Linked DNA regions of Homo sapiens: regions 2 and 3 are each linked to region 1. Evidence: promoter capture Hi-C in human tissues and cell types (Jung and others, 2019). All regions are on one chromosome and are shown on one strand. The core of a region is centred on a gene start or on the middle of the fragment in contact, and the rest is flanking DNA. Distances in the headings are between cores, read along the strand shown.

Region 1 (5,001 bases), core at 1,174-3,673:
CTTTTACATAAAGTTGGGCTTCCCGACTGTCTGATCAAGTCAATTTCTATAATTGTTTCAGGCCTCAGCTTCCCCATCTATAAAATAGGGATGATAATAGATACTTTCTCATACAGTTGTTTTGAGGATTCTGGGTGATTATACTTGCTAACTACTTGGCATGGTAAATGCCTGGCACACAGTAACTGCTAGTTTACACATTCAGTGGGGGCTACTTTTTAAAAAATCTAAGTCCTCCAGTGGCACAATCTGACTGAAAGAAGCTCTCAGTGAACCAACGTATTCAATTACTAAACAACTTCCCAACAACGAAAAAGTGAAGAAGGTAACAGTCAATGCTATGCTGACTGGAAAGATGACTCACTCTAGTTGACTCTAAATCAGTTAAAAAATATATGGCTGTCTCTAAATCCAGCTTATCTTGACTCAGCATAATCTATGTTATTACTAATCAGCATGGACTTTTTATTGGCCCTTGGCTGCTATTTAGATTCCCACCCCCCCATTCTCTATTCTTAGACTGCCTTTAGAGGTGGTTTCAACCCAGGAACATTAAGTGGGCTTTTTTTATTTTTTTTCTTTTTCCTTTCCTAATGAGCATAGAGTAGTCAAAGCACTATCTTTGATCTTCCATTTCCCACTGGGAATTTATGAAGGCACGAGCAACAAAAAACTTATGAAGGTCATTACAACAGGCCTTTGACTGAAAACAGCTTTAATTATGAATCTATAAAACTCAACTGAGTCACACTGGGCTTTCAGAAACACATCTGCTCTGAGAATTTATTCCTTCAAGCATTATCTTGTGCCCTTTGTAATCACTAATGCAGGACACGACTAGATCTATTATATTAATAAAAATCTTCCCAATAGTTGGGGTAAATCCAACATTTCACTATTTCAGGCATTTGCCTCTTACTCAAATCCTAACACCAGAGGAAAAAGGCAGCAGCCTCACACTGTTGCCAACACCCACTTCCAGGAGAATACCTTTTTAAAAAATGCTTACTGTGATTTTCCAAGTACATTTGCTATTTGGAGGGTACACTCCAGGAAAACCTTCACTGCCAATAAATCCAGACTCTCCAGTAAGAATGCCACCACATGTGAAAACAGGTCTGGGAACATAAAAGAAGAAAAGATAATGTAATTTGAAACATGGTCTAACAATCTGATGTTACCTTCAGAAAGGTGTAGCCTATTAATATAAATAAAAGTTAATGTTGATTAATCAATGCTTGCACCATATAAGGGATCTGAAAATTTGCTAGCTCCTAGAATATTTAAATTATAGCCTGACAAAGCATTCAGTCCAGCGCCATCTGTCTCCATCATAATAACACAAGATTATATATATGTATAATCAAGTCCTCGGCATTGTGGCAAAGTCTTGTAGGAAAATGGTAAATACATCAATTTAACTGGGGGAGTGGGAGAGAAGGTAAGAGCCAGGCTGAATGAGAAGCATGGTTTTAAAGAAAGACAGGCAAGCAATTGGTTAATATAAAAAAAGTTTGTCGTTCCCATATTTGGAGAGATGCCCAGTTCTCCTCCCCCTTTCTGAAAATCACTCGCCATTGGCAGAGCTTCCCATCGAAAGGGAGGCTGATGTTGATGGAGGCTGAAGAGGTGATGCCAAAGTTGGCCACCGGGCAGGTCCCACAGCCCAGCTCCTGGGGCCTTCCAGAGGTTGGCGAAGAGTTAACTTTCCGGAGCGGCTCCCTAGGCGCCGCGCCGCTAGGGTTGTTCCCTAGTTTACGTCTCTGGGCAAAGCCTCTCGGGGAAGGAAAAAAAACAGCGGTAAACCAAAATCCACATATTTGGGCCCCAGTGCTTCCCTCTGGCCCCATAGACACGAGGAGAGGGGAGACACAAGTCAGATTAAGCCCCGCCACGTGGTGGCCAAGCCAGCTGCAGGGCCATCCGGCAGGCCGGGCTGGGGACCCAGGAGGGAGCCCCGCGAGCAAGGATGGGTCCCGAAGTCCCGGGCTTAGCCTACCCGAGGGTGGCGGACGCCTGCACCGCGCGGGAGCGCAGGGTCGAGCGCTGGGTCACCCAGGCGCGCCGAAGCGGGTTGAGTAAAGCAGCAGGCGAGGCTGCAGGGGTGGAGGAAGGGAAAGGAGAGAAAGGGAGCCCGGGCAGGGGTCGCGTTACCTCTCTGGGGACTGCTGCCGCGAGAGCTGGGTGGCGGCAGCCAGCAGCAGGCAGAGTGGCGCCCAGGCGTTCGCGCCCCTCATGGCAGCGTAGACGCTCGGGGTTTGCACCCCACGGCGCGCGCGCCGGCACACACGCCCCTCCGCACCCACCGCGCTCACACCGCCGCTCACACTGGCAGCAGCGCTGGCTCACACCGGCGCTCGGCTGCCCGCGCGCTCCCTCTCACGCGCGCACCGCCGCGGGGCGGCCCAGGTAGCCGGGGGATACGCGGCCGGCAGGGCGGAGGCACTTTTAAAGGCGATTATGGTGCCGTCTGACTCGACGCTTAGTTTCCCCTGAGGAGCTGCTCTGGCAGCCACAGGCCACTGCTGAATATCCCGTTTGTTCTCCGGCGGCAGGAGGGGCGGCTCCGAGGCCAGAGCCGCCCCCTCTCGTGGGGCGGGCGAACGTCTCCTCCCGGCACCCCGGGACCGACGGGTCCTCTCTCGTCCAGCCCTCAGGGACCCCGGGGAGAAGAGGAACCCCTTGCGGAGTGGCACCCCAGCGGCCCGGGCCCCGACGCCCAGAGACGATTCTCAGGGAGGGCTTCTGGTTTTGCTTTGGGGAATGTTTTTCCCAGTTGCTTTTAAATAAAAAGTAATAGCGCTTGCTGGCTGCTGGAAAGCCTGGGGGTCCTTCTTTGTCTCCTTCAAAACCCAGATCCAAGGAAAGAAAGGGAAAAGGGATTTTATTGTATTTTAACTTCTGTGCTTATTCTCCTCTCTCTCTCTCTAGATACTTTTCTTTTTTTTACTGGTATGACAATGACAAGGAAGACAGTCTCTGTGCCGGGATTTAAACACGGGTTTTCAGGCGAGCGATTTCTGTGTGAACTGTCATTAAATGTCAGATAATGAAGACGGAACCAAATCAGCAAATCTCACCATCCCATGTCATGTTCTGAAAATGGTGTTTCTCTGCTTGCATCTCTCTGTTCTTAGACCTTTCCAACAGCATCTTTCTGTGGTATTAACGGGTTAAAATTTACGGAGAATTCGTTTTTCTTAGACGAACAATTCTAGCCTTGTGGAATCAATACTCTCTTTTACTTAATTACAGAAATATAATTTTAAACATTTATTTTGTTAAGAGCTTCCCAATAACCAGGGATTAATAAAAGAATGACAGGAACAGACTAGATTCATAGAGATTTTTAATAATCACCAGCTATGGGAGATACAGCTTAACTTTGATGCCTCACGTTGTTCCTTCTAAATTGTTTTCACCTTTCTAAGCAAGAAAATTAAGTATTAAAGTAGTTCTTATCGAGACTTTATTTCTAATAATGAGCTGTTAAGAATCTAAACACGGGTGGGCGCGATGGCCCACGCCTGTAATCCCAGCACTTTTGGAGGCCGAGGCGGGCGGATCACGAGGTCAGGAGTTCGAAACCAGTCTGGCCAAGATGGTGAAACCCCGCCTCGACTAAAAATACAAAAAATTAGCCAGGTGTTGCGGTGTGCGTCTGTAATCCCGGGTACTCGGGAAGCTGAGGCAGAAGTATCGCGTGAACCCGGGAGGCGGAGGTTGCAGTGAGCCGAGATCACGCCATTGCACTCCAGCCCCGGGCGACAGAGTGAGACTCCATCTCAAAAAAGAAAAAAAAAAAAAAAAGAACCTAAACACTCCTGGCAAGGAAGTAAGTAAAACTGGCTACAGGAAATATTCTGACTTTTCATAGTGAGTGCACCCTGAAGCCTATACTAGGAACCAGAATATACGGACAGGACTTAGATTATCTTACCATTTTTTTAAAAAGTGAAGGCAAAAACATCATAAAGTACAACTTTCAAAACTTCTCTACAGGCACCACACCCTTTATGACATTAAAAAAAAGGGTGACAGAATTTGGCAAACTGCTTTATATCCTGAAACACTCTCAACCCAATAAAAATGTCTTTAAAACAGGGAAGAGGAGAATAAATGGTTGTTGATTTTGCACGCATTTCAAGAATATGCTATCTAATAGCATAAGTGTTTTTAGATAATTGTTTATTTGAAAGTCATAGTTTTAAATTATAAAGGGAAATATTGCTCAATTCACTTTCTGGTAATGATTTGCAGTCCTCGTAAACCAGAAAATACTTCATTCAGGACTAAGCTAAGTTTTCAAAATTTAAAATAAATAACAAAGTATTAAATGTGCCTAAATAGGAAACTATTTGAACTAAAATACACAGCCATTTCTTAATTTATAGATTGATGACTGTGTTCATATGCTCACTAAAGAGTTAGGATTTTAACACCAATCATTCTGTTGTTGACACTCATAAGACATTGATTTTACCATGTGATTTTAGAATTTACTAAAACCCATATTATTGGCTCTTAAAAACACATATTTGACTTGGAACTACAGTTCTGACCAAAATTATAAACCTTAAATGTCCTGAGAAGTTGATGTGTTAAAATTGAGAGACTTTTATTAGTTTGTTCTCACGCCGCTATGAAGAAATACCCGAGACTGGGTAATTTATAAAGAAAAGAAGTTTAATTGACTCACAGTTTCACATGGCTGGGGAGTCCTCAGGAAACTTATAATCATGGCAGAAGGCACCTCCTCACAGGGTGATAGGAGAAGGGGAAAAGCCCCTTACAAAACCATCAGCTCTCATGAGCATTCACTCACCACCAGGAGAACAGCATGGGGGAAACCATTCCCACGATTCAATTACCTCCACCTGGTCCCACCCTTGACACCTGGGGATTATTACAATTCAAGGTGAGATTTGGGTGGAGACACAGCCAAACCATATCAAGACTCAAGTGCACTTTGAAGGTATATGTAAGGTCCATCTCTGTGAG
Region 2 (5,001 bases), core at 1,782-4,281, 200 kb before region 1:
ACAAAACTCACACTTATCCCTTCTTTCCCAGTGAGACAGAATGAGAAATCAATTTCATGATCTTTTTCTGCTTGACTGCCATAACCAAAGTTCCAGTGTCCTTGTCACCTCATAATTACAGTTTTGTGATTAATGAACGACGTTTCAGATTTAACAAATATATTCTTCAAAGAATATGAGTAATTCATTCTTCTTGAAGGTCCCGTAAAATAAAATAAAGATTATATTTTCTATGTAGATACGTAACTGAGAGGGAAAATAGACAAAAAATGTAGATTTTTCAGCGAAGAGAAATTTAGGGTGAGAGATTAGAACTTGAAAAAAAATAAGCAAAAGCAACACTGTTAGGTTTTATCAGTCTGGAAAATTTCAAAATCCCTCTGTCAGTAGAAGGCATTGTTTAGAGTGGCATATTAAAAATGATCTGCTTTTTATAGTCACTGAATTCTTGCTAGGTATCTTTTCCAACTTGCTCGCTTTCTTATTTTTCATGTTTGAATTCTTTTTGCTAGTGTTCAGCATGCTTTTGGAATTTTTCAGTGTGAATAGGATTGCTAAATATTTCCATTATTATTTACTGTCTATTAAGATAACATGGGAAATATTTATCAGTCATCTTTATTATGTATGTCCTCATACATCTGCCAAAAATGTATTTGACTTTGACTGTCATTGGATTATTTTCCTCTGTAAATTTGTGTTTTAATATATCCTTATGAAATTTGAAGCTTGATCATATCACATCCCAAATTCATATGTTAGTATGTCCTCATTGGCAGAGAATTTTCTCTCTAGGGAATTAAATAAAACACAATTAAATATTAAACGCTCACATCAAATTGAACCAGATATGTGGGCTACGTACAGAAAGATCATCTCAGAATTCATTTATGATTACAGAAGGTACACAGGCCATAAACTATCAGACTTTGTTCAAATCATAGTTCCACTATTTAATCTGAATGACCTCTGTGAGCCTTGGTTTTTTTCATATATAAAACAAGACTAATAAACTTAATTTGAAGAGTTACAGAGCAAGCTAAATGTGATCATGAATGGAAGAATACAGTATGTGTTTATTAATGGTCAGGGAGGGAGGAGGAAAGCACTTCATATGTCACAGCACATTTGAGTGTTAAATATATGTTAACTCCTCTTTTCCCTCTTAGTAACCTACTTCTAAGATATTTGTTATTTTTATTACTATTTTTTATTATTTGTAGACGTCAAATTGAGCCTGCAAATGAAAAGAATGTTTTATAGTTCTTTCAATCTTGTATATCAGCAATTAAGATTTTACTTCTTGAAATTGTATATCAGATCTAGGGGGAAAAAAAGGTTTTACTTCTAAGATTGCTTTAGCTGTCTATAATCCAGACAACATTTTCCAATCTGGAACACATATATCTTTGTAATGCTTTACCATGGCTGTTGCACAAATGCATAGTGCCTCTAGCTTTGAGCATTTATTTACCAAGACACTTTGAAATGTTATTAGATAAATAAATGCTCATTTATAAAATCTATTTTACTTTCCAGGTATCAAAAATTAAAATAATTATATAATCAGTTGAGAACAATAGGAAGAAATATGAACCCCCGAAGATAGTTTCAGAACTCAATCAAAATGCAAGTTTAGTTATTTTAAAATATTATTCACTGCATCATTAGGTTCAACAGAATTTGGATATTTTAATTAAAAATTAAACCATTATGGCACTATTAATCTTCATAATTTTAAGACATTTAGATTTTCCTAGATGGAAATAATGTAAAACTTCTGTAACTATTAGAAACATATATATATATATCTTTATGATAGATAGAGAAACAACTGAGAGGTAAATCCAAATCAAAGGCATCAAGTTATTGATCATAGTATGTTTATATTTATGTCACTTTGGGGATAGTTCATAGATTTAATTTGTACCTGTTTAATAATTCCTACAAATAAGGCTGGCATGGATTCTAGAAATATTTAGTTTAGCTTGGTTATTCTTAAAAAAAGATTCTCATGTAGACTGTTTATTATAAAGTGGTGGTAGCAGATACAACAGACTGATCAGTTACCTTTTATGCAGACCAGAGGGAACAAAATTTAAGCAAGAAATTATAGGGCTACATAATAGAGCAATAATTAAAGCAGATTCTGGGAAAGCTGTTAGATAATGGCATTGAAATCACATGAAACTACAGTGGGTAGATGATTTCCTGAACAGTTGGCACAAATAACAGAATCCTTTAGATCTGACAAGGCTTGCGTTCCTATCATGGGTGTGCAGGTTTATACTGTCTTTGGCACTCAATGTGAAGATGACTGTTGCAATCGCTCTATACGAACGAGCCCCTGGAACGCAGATGATTATAGATTTATGTGCCAAATTGTCCTGTGAGTCTCACATGGGCCAAAATCTAGAGAGTGACTTGAACTTGCCTATAACTTAGAAGTGATGACAGGTGTAAATGTTTCAGTTTTTCAGGAGTCTGCTGATAAGATGTAAACTAGGCCATTCCACTGTCTAATAACTTTGCCGAAGAACAAATAATCATGATAGTTACTTAGAACTATTTGCAGTCAGGAGATGACTAGAAGGCAGACAGTGGCAGAGCCAGCCCACATCCCTGCTCACTTTGTGGTATACTATGACCCGCATTTTCCTTATAGATGATGTAAGCACTGTTACAAAGGGAATGCTCAGGGAGGTATGGTTAAATAACAGCACCTGAAGGAGTTATCTCCTTGAGGGGATCTTTGAGGTCCAGGAACTTACTATGATGAAATCTGTCTTTCTCTTATCAACCTGTATTGGGTCTGTGTTCCTTATGTATTTTCAGTAATGATAATCTAAACTAACTCAGGAAGCCTGTAAAATAGTTATATTCCCCTCATTGTGTGTTTTTATATTTACCTGTAATCCCCTCTGCCCTTCATTGTGTGGTGTAAAGTGTAGGTCTGTGTGCTGAGAAACTTTCCTATGTAAAACCATAATTTGTACAAATTTAGAAACACTGCACCGAGAAAGGTATAACTTTTCTATTTGTGTTTAATGTGCTAATGTTACCCTGACTGCGAAAACATTTTGTTTTTATTAATGTTTAGTGAATCCCTTTTGCATCTAATCATAATTATAGACCACAGAAGTGTATCTGTTATTTCTAGGTAGAGAAACCCATGGCTCAGTACTAGTTCACAGACATCAAAGGGAATCTAGAAGGAGAGATTTAGAGCAAATGGAGGCTTCCTAGATAGTAGGAAAGAAGGGACTTTGGCATTAAGAGACTTTTTTTCTCCCTTTAAAGAAACTGTAGTATCTAAAGAACCATGGCAAGGTAGGTTTGACCAGTTTGTACCTGCTAGAATGGTTTAACATATAGTTCCTGGTTCCTTTTGTCCTGAGTCATCAGTGTGAGCTTGTGTCTACTCTAGGAGAGAGCAAGGAAGAGAGAACATTTCGGAACTGGATGAATTCCTTGGGAGTCAACCCATACATTAATCATTTGTACAGGTAAATATTTTATTGTGCTTCAGCTTTACTGTCAGGGTCCAACTTTTCAAGTTTCAAACTGTAGGCATGTTTAAATGGAACATTTTCTCAAGTTGCAAGAATTTTAGCCAATTTTTAGAGTTTCAGGATGCTGGGAATTGGCAATACAATGGATTTTAAAAGAAAGCTACTATTCAAAAAAGGAATAATAGTTATGTTTTTGATGATATACGTAAATCAGTAAAGATAATCCTTTTTTATAGTTATTGATTGTAAAAATAATTTCAACTTTAACAGATTAGAGTAACAGTAATAACTGATAAATTGTTGTTATATCAGTATTTTTATTATGTCATTTTTCATTTATTTTTGCCAAAACCTTAATTATTCCATAATTTTTGTGTATATTTTTTTCTAATTTGTAAAAGTAACTTGTTTTCCTTGAATAATTGTTATAGCTTATCTCATTCTTTCTTGTTTAAAAAATGATAACACATTATTGACATTAGTAGGGCTAAGAAAATATTTTACTAAATCAACTCCTGGGCTAACGATGCATCTTTCTAAGTGTGGATGAGAGGAAACCATTCTTCTCTCTTTATTATACAATCTACCAGCCTGCCTTGATAAAGTGCAAAATAAGCCAACTTCAGCTAGTTGTATTTTTTTTTAGAAAAAAGTTCTAATTAGCTAAATGTATTAATAATTTATATACCCAAGAAACTCCTTAAACAAGATTATGATTAACTCCTTAAAGAAGATTAATGTCACAACAGGCCAAGTTCACTGGTTCACTGAGGATTTATGATGTTGTAATTTCTGCTCCTTGGTGTTTATTCACAATGTTCTTTAAAATTGAAAACCAGTGTTACCTTATTATGGTAACTGGCTTTGATGTGATAGACCCATATTTGTAAAGCTCTTAAAGAGTGTGTAAATTTCAGCTGGATGAGGAGATATACGTCAATTAGACCAGAGCTCCTGTTACAGTAGCAGGGAAGTTAAAACACAAATATTGAAGGTGAGGAGGGATTCACTTTTTATGGACTGATTTGAAAGAATGTCTATAATATATAGTCAAGAAAAAAGAATAACAGGTCTAGTATGATCCCATTTTGTTTACAATTTGAGTGTGTGGATATTTGTATTCGAATTTTAAAAGAAAATCTAGAGAGGTACATAGCAAACTCTATGTAGCCTGGGTAGTAGGAGTAGAGAATAGTAAGGAGACTTACTTATTTATTTATTTATTTATTTATTTATTTATTTATTTATTTATTTATTTGAGATGGAGTTTCACTCTTGTTGCCCAGGCTGGAGTGCAATGGTGTGATCTCGGCTCACCGCAACCTCTGCCTCCCTGATTCAAGTGATTCTCCTGCCTCAGCCTCCCAAGTAGCTGGGATTACAGGCATGTGCCACCACGCCCAGCTAATTTTGTATTTTTAGTAGAGATGGGGTTTCTCCATGTTGGTCAGGCTGGACGCGAACTCCTGACCTCAGGTGATCTGCCTGC
Region 3 (5,001 bases), core at 1,004-3,503, 150 kb before region 1:
CAGACAAACACAGATGAACATTATATTTCTAGGGAGAGATCAGGCTAAAGAGATACAGTAAGCTGTCAGGGCCATGGGAATGCCCATCACCATTGTGAGAGTAGGTGAAATCATGGAGAAGAGCAAAGGGCTGGTGCAGATTCATTCTTAAGGAAACATCTACATTTAATAAAGAGCATTACATGGAAAGAGTTTCATTAAAGACCAAATGAATTGTTGAAGATATCAGAGGCAGTTAGGATAATGCAACATTGTGAAAGCCAAAAGAATAGTTTTTAACATATTGGCTTAGAAATTAAGAAAAATTAGAAGGTAGAAAAAGTAATTGGACTTGGAAACTGGCATCAGTAGAATTGGAGAAATGATACACTTTGATTTGCAAAGTTTGACACAATGAAAGGAAGAAGAAAACGAGTGGTAAGAGAAAGATGGAATTAAGTCAAGTTAGCAAAGAGCTAGTAAGCAAGTTAGCAAAGAGTGATGAAGGATTTAAAGTTCTGGGAGGTGGGAGATTAGACTGGTATTTCTGCAAATGAAGGACCAGGGTTCTAAAGATTGGAGAGCATCAAATAGAATACTAAGGTGGAAAATGTAGCTTTGGAAAGGAAATACGTAACTTTTTTACTCTGAGCTTAAAGGAAAGAGTATGGGAATTGTTGAAAAGATAAATTCTAAGGTAGGAAGGAAGATAATGATCTCATAAATATGTAATAAGTATATATTGAAGAGCTTTTAATAAAGAATCGTCAAATATCTGAGAAATTGGAAAGCAAAACTAGTGAGGATTTTTTGTATAACTATGTATTTTTAAAATAATTTAAAACATTTATTTCTCTCATAACTGCCATTGATTTATCAAATAACATACCATTTGTGCAGAATAAGTAAATGGTAACTCCTTATTTACAAGAAATTTTAATGTAAATGAATATTTTTATAGCTGAAGCTTATCCTTTTAAGCATTGAAAGATTTAATGTAAATCTTTATTCCTTACTAAGTAATGTATCTGAATATAATTTAACTTTACCATCCTTAGTTGGAATAATTGAGAATGTAATTATTTTACTTTGCTTCATATGGTCTGAAACTATTAACATGTTTGTCCTTACATTAAGTGGCTTTAGACTGTTGTGCATTGATAGTGATTTTGCTGTACTGGTATTTAATCTTTTCAGTAGTCAACTTTTAGTAATTCTTTCTTCCTTTCCCTCTACGCTGTTGGTTTTAATCTTGCTATTCTTTTATTCAGTAAAGATCTGAAGGATACTTGGGAAAGCCAGATATTCATCATTTATGGACAATTCTAAATCAGAATGCTTGGGTCTGTTTCTTTTGGGAAATAATACCCATGGAGTTTCTTTGTGACAGCTCAATATGTTGCTGTTTTTAAATCCATGGCTATTTTTCAGATTGTTGAAGTTCCCTGGTGTTTGACTTTGAAAGTAATGACATTACTATAGTTAGCTTTATTGGTTAAAATTAAAAATCATAGGCTGGGCGCAGTGGCTCACGCCTGTAATCCCAGCACTTTGAGAGGCCGAGGTGGGTGGATCTCTTGAGGTTGGGAGTTAGAGACCAGCCCAGCCAACAGGGTGAAACCCTGTCTTTACTAAAAATACAAAAATTAGCCGGGTATGGTGGCATGCACCTGTAGTCCCAGCTACTCGGGAGGCTGAGGCAGGAGAATCCCTTGAACCTGGGAGGCGGAGGTTGCAGTGAGCCAAGATTGTGCCACTGCACTCCAGCCTGGGTGACAGAGCAAGACTCTGTCTCAAAAAAAAAAAAAATTAAAAATCATAAATGAAATATTTAATAGTAATGGATATAGCATTCTTTTTGTTCATTTCCTTCAACTGATTAAATATGCTAAAATCTGAAGAGAAATGTTTGCAAAGCAGAGTAATAATGCTAGGACTTTAAAGCATAGGCCACAGCTCAATGAACCCTGAAAGTTTTAAGAGATAGTGCAATGGGTTAAATTTCCCATCTGGGTGGGAAGTTTTTCTGTGGGAAAACATAGGTGATTCCTAAGGGTTGAGTGAGGACTCCAACCCTTTTTTTTGAGGTGCATAGTCCTATTTTTAGATATTCAGGTAAAGTCTGCCACTTTTAGTTCTATTTTTTACATCCAGATAAAGTGAATATAAACTTTACTCTTTTCAGCTACAAAGAATATTAAAGATCGATATAGTTTTGTTTCCAAGAGCAAGAACATTGATTTAAATAGTTATTAATGATTATAGCAGTTAAAATGTACAGATTGAAAATAATTAGGGCATTTTCTTAGATTAAATCATTATTTATCCCCATGTTTTCCTTCTTCCTTTATATTTTTCCCTAAAAATCCAAAAACCTGATGTTATAGTTGCCAGTAGGACTATAGGCTTTGTTACAGAGTTGAAAAGTCCCCATTTCCTCAGAGTCTCCTTACTTTTTCCTCTTTCGGATCTTCACAGTGAGCTATAGACTGGGAGCAGAATGATAAAGTCACTTCTCCCTCCAGTCTCCATGAACTTTGGTAGCCTAACTATTTGTGGCTTATACTTGATAAAATTGCTCATAAATGTCAAATTTGTAGCATTTTAGTCAGCCATGTGTTTTAAAAATGAGAACAGAAGGCTCTCACCTTTAGATATTCTCCCTATATTCCTGTTTGCATTGATGATAATCATTTTCATTAGACTGAAAAAAATCCTTTACCTGTAGTAATAGTTCTTGACAGTTTCTTTTATAGATTTGGATTGTTAAGATTCTTTTGGTCCACAGTTCAAGAGTAAGGATCTTGAAAAAAAATTTTCAACTTTAAATCCTGCATGGATCAGCACTGTTACTCTAATAATCCCTTCAATGAGACATTCATTATTTTACCAACTCATGCATTGAAACCAGGACAGAAACGTGTGTATTGTGGTACACAGAAGTACTCCTAAGGCAAGCAAATGTACTATTTGTACAGTCAAAATTTTTGAAAAATTTTGTATTACTGTATATAATACAGTTTAAATTTTTAAAAAGTTTTATTTATGAATTAGTAAAAAGAAGTAGTTTACCTTTTTATCTTCCATTTTCATTTTTAACTTTTTTTTTTTTTGAAGTCTGCAGATGCACTTTTGGTGGCAATCGACTCTGAAGTAGTGGGAGCTGTTGATATACTACTTAATCATCGACCAAAACGATCATCAAGACCAACTATAGTAGTTAGTACTCTTAAATATTTATTAATTTGGATTTTTAAACCAAAATAGATCTCTTGCCCCATTGCCATTTTTTCCTTCCCTCAAATTTATTTTGTTTTTTCAAAAAATAGATATTTTTTCTCACTCTGTAAAATATTAAAAGTGGACACTTGCAGGAATAATTAGTATTTCTTTCAGGAAAACTTTTTAAATTTAGTTGATATTTCCATAATTTTGTCACTGTGGACCAGTATTTACCATTTGAAATATTCTGCAGGTAATGTTGAAAATATAGATTAGTTTGCAGATAGATAAGAATTAAATGTAAACAATGAAACCAACAAACTGGAAGAAAATGTAGGTGAATGTTTAACTGATCGTGAGTAGAAAGACTTTATGTGCATAAAAGCAATGGACAGAAATCACAGTGGCACAGTTTTTGCTGTTAAAAAAGTTAAATTTTTGGAATCCAGACATCAGACAAAATTTAGAAAGCAGATGAATAACTGGCAAAAGATATTTGCAGCATATATCATAAATTAATAATCTTAATATTGGACAAATTGGTGAAAAACATATTAGAAAAGGACATAGAAATAGCAGAAAATACAAAATGTTAAATCTTAATGATAATCAAATACAGTAAGATACTAATTTTAAACTTACCAAATTTACTTATTAAAGTTGAAAATTTAAAAAAAATCATTGATAGCAAGGGAGTATTACAGTCTCATGCTACTAGTGAGGCAGGTATTTTGGAAAGTGTTTTGGCAGGATCTGTCATAAGAAAGGTGTTCATATGCTTTAACTTAGTGCTTTCTCCTCTGGGAACTTATCAAGGAAATGGTCAGAAATGTGGACAAAAATGTTGGTTGTGATCTTATTTGTAGTAATTTTTAAAAGCCCATGTGACATAATCTAAACATTCCAAAATAGAAGATAGGAAATATAAATGATTACATATATGTACAATGGAATATTATGCAGTCATTAAAACAGTACTTTTAAAAGAATAGTTAGGAACATGGAAAAATATAACGTAGTAAGTGGAATACTTACTATGGTTAAAATACTTACCACGGTTAAAAATATGCGTAGAAAAGGGACTGTGTGGAAATGCAACAAAATGTTACCTAACAATCATCATCTCTCATTGACTAACCAAATTATGGATTTTTTTGTACTCTTTTTATTTTTCTTTATTGCTTTTGTAATTAGGAGGATAGTCACTACTAAATAAATGCTAATTTTATTGTTTTTTAATCAAATTTTAAACATGATAACATTCATTATTGGTGACGATACCGTGAAACAAGCAGTTTAAATAACTGCTGGCAATATAGGCTGGCTATAAGCAGAAGAAAAATACTGTTTTAAGAGAGAATTATAAATTGGTTGTTGACTCTCTGCCATGTTTGAGAAATGTGAGAGGCTCTGCTAAATTGCATACTTTGTTATATAGTAACTGAAAAATCTTACTCATTCAGACTATTACAAAAGTGTGACTTTCTCCAGAGGATAGTACCATCTAGTTTAAGTGGTGGTAAGAAATCAACAGGAATAAGGAACAAAAGGCTAAGAATATAGTCCCTATCCAAAGCATCAGAAATATCTAAAATACCATTCAATTTTCTGCCACTTATCTTGCAGTTATTATTATATTTTGGCACACCTGTCCCATCTTCTAGCCTTTTAGTCCATTTCCTTTCCTGGGGGAAGGGTGGGGTGTAGTGTGCTTGAGTACTGGAACCATTGACTGGTTTTATTCATCACCATTATCACTAACGATTAAATCTTAGTGTTGGCAGCCCTCACCTACTTAGT

What was found. The method cuts DNA at HindIII sites, captures the fragments that hold promoters and counts their contacts. A contact is called where the count stands out against the background at its distance.
Region 2: a fragment that was not itself captured here is called in contact with the fragment with the promoter of PCOLCE2 in region 1 in 1 of the 25 tissues and cell types used here (IMR-90 fibroblasts).
Region 3: a fragment that was not itself captured here is called in contact with the fragment with the promoter of PCOLCE2 in region 1 in 2 of the 25 tissues and cell types used here (H1 embryonic stem cells and neural progenitor cells).

The regions. Positions count from the first base shown.
Region 1 is chr3:142,886,660-142,891,660 of GRCh38, forward strand. PCOLCE2 (procollagen C-endopeptidase enhancer 2) reads right to left here and starts at 2,424. Exons shown (of 9, transcript NM_013363.4): 1 at 2,155-2,424; 2 at 1,010-1,118. The coding sequence starts at 2,237. It overlaps LOC124909443 (a long non-coding RNA gene), which reads left to right and starts at 1,605. Exons shown (of 2, transcript XR_007096122.1): 1 at 1,605-1,800; 2 at 2,932-4,108. RefSeq lists a silencer at 2,367-2,416. The HindIII fragment of the contact is 12,495 bases long and covers 1-5,001 here.
Region 2 is chr3:142,691,042-142,696,042 of GRCh38, forward strand. It overlaps PLS1 (plastin 1), which reads left to right. Exons shown (of 16, transcript NM_001145319.2): 11 at 3,428-3,506. Among named protein-coding and RNA genes, the nearest start is that of TRPC1, 30 kb to the right of the region's middle. The HindIII fragment of the contact is 5,635 bases long and covers 215-5,001 here.
Region 3 is chr3:142,740,389-142,745,389 of GRCh38, forward strand. TRPC1 (transient receptor potential cation channel subfamily C member 1) reads left to right here. Exons shown (of 13, transcript NM_001251845.2): 3 at 3,097-3,198. Among named protein-coding and RNA genes, the nearest start is that of TRPC1, 19 kb to the left of the region's middle. The HindIII fragment of the contact is 7,023 bases long and covers 1-5,001 here.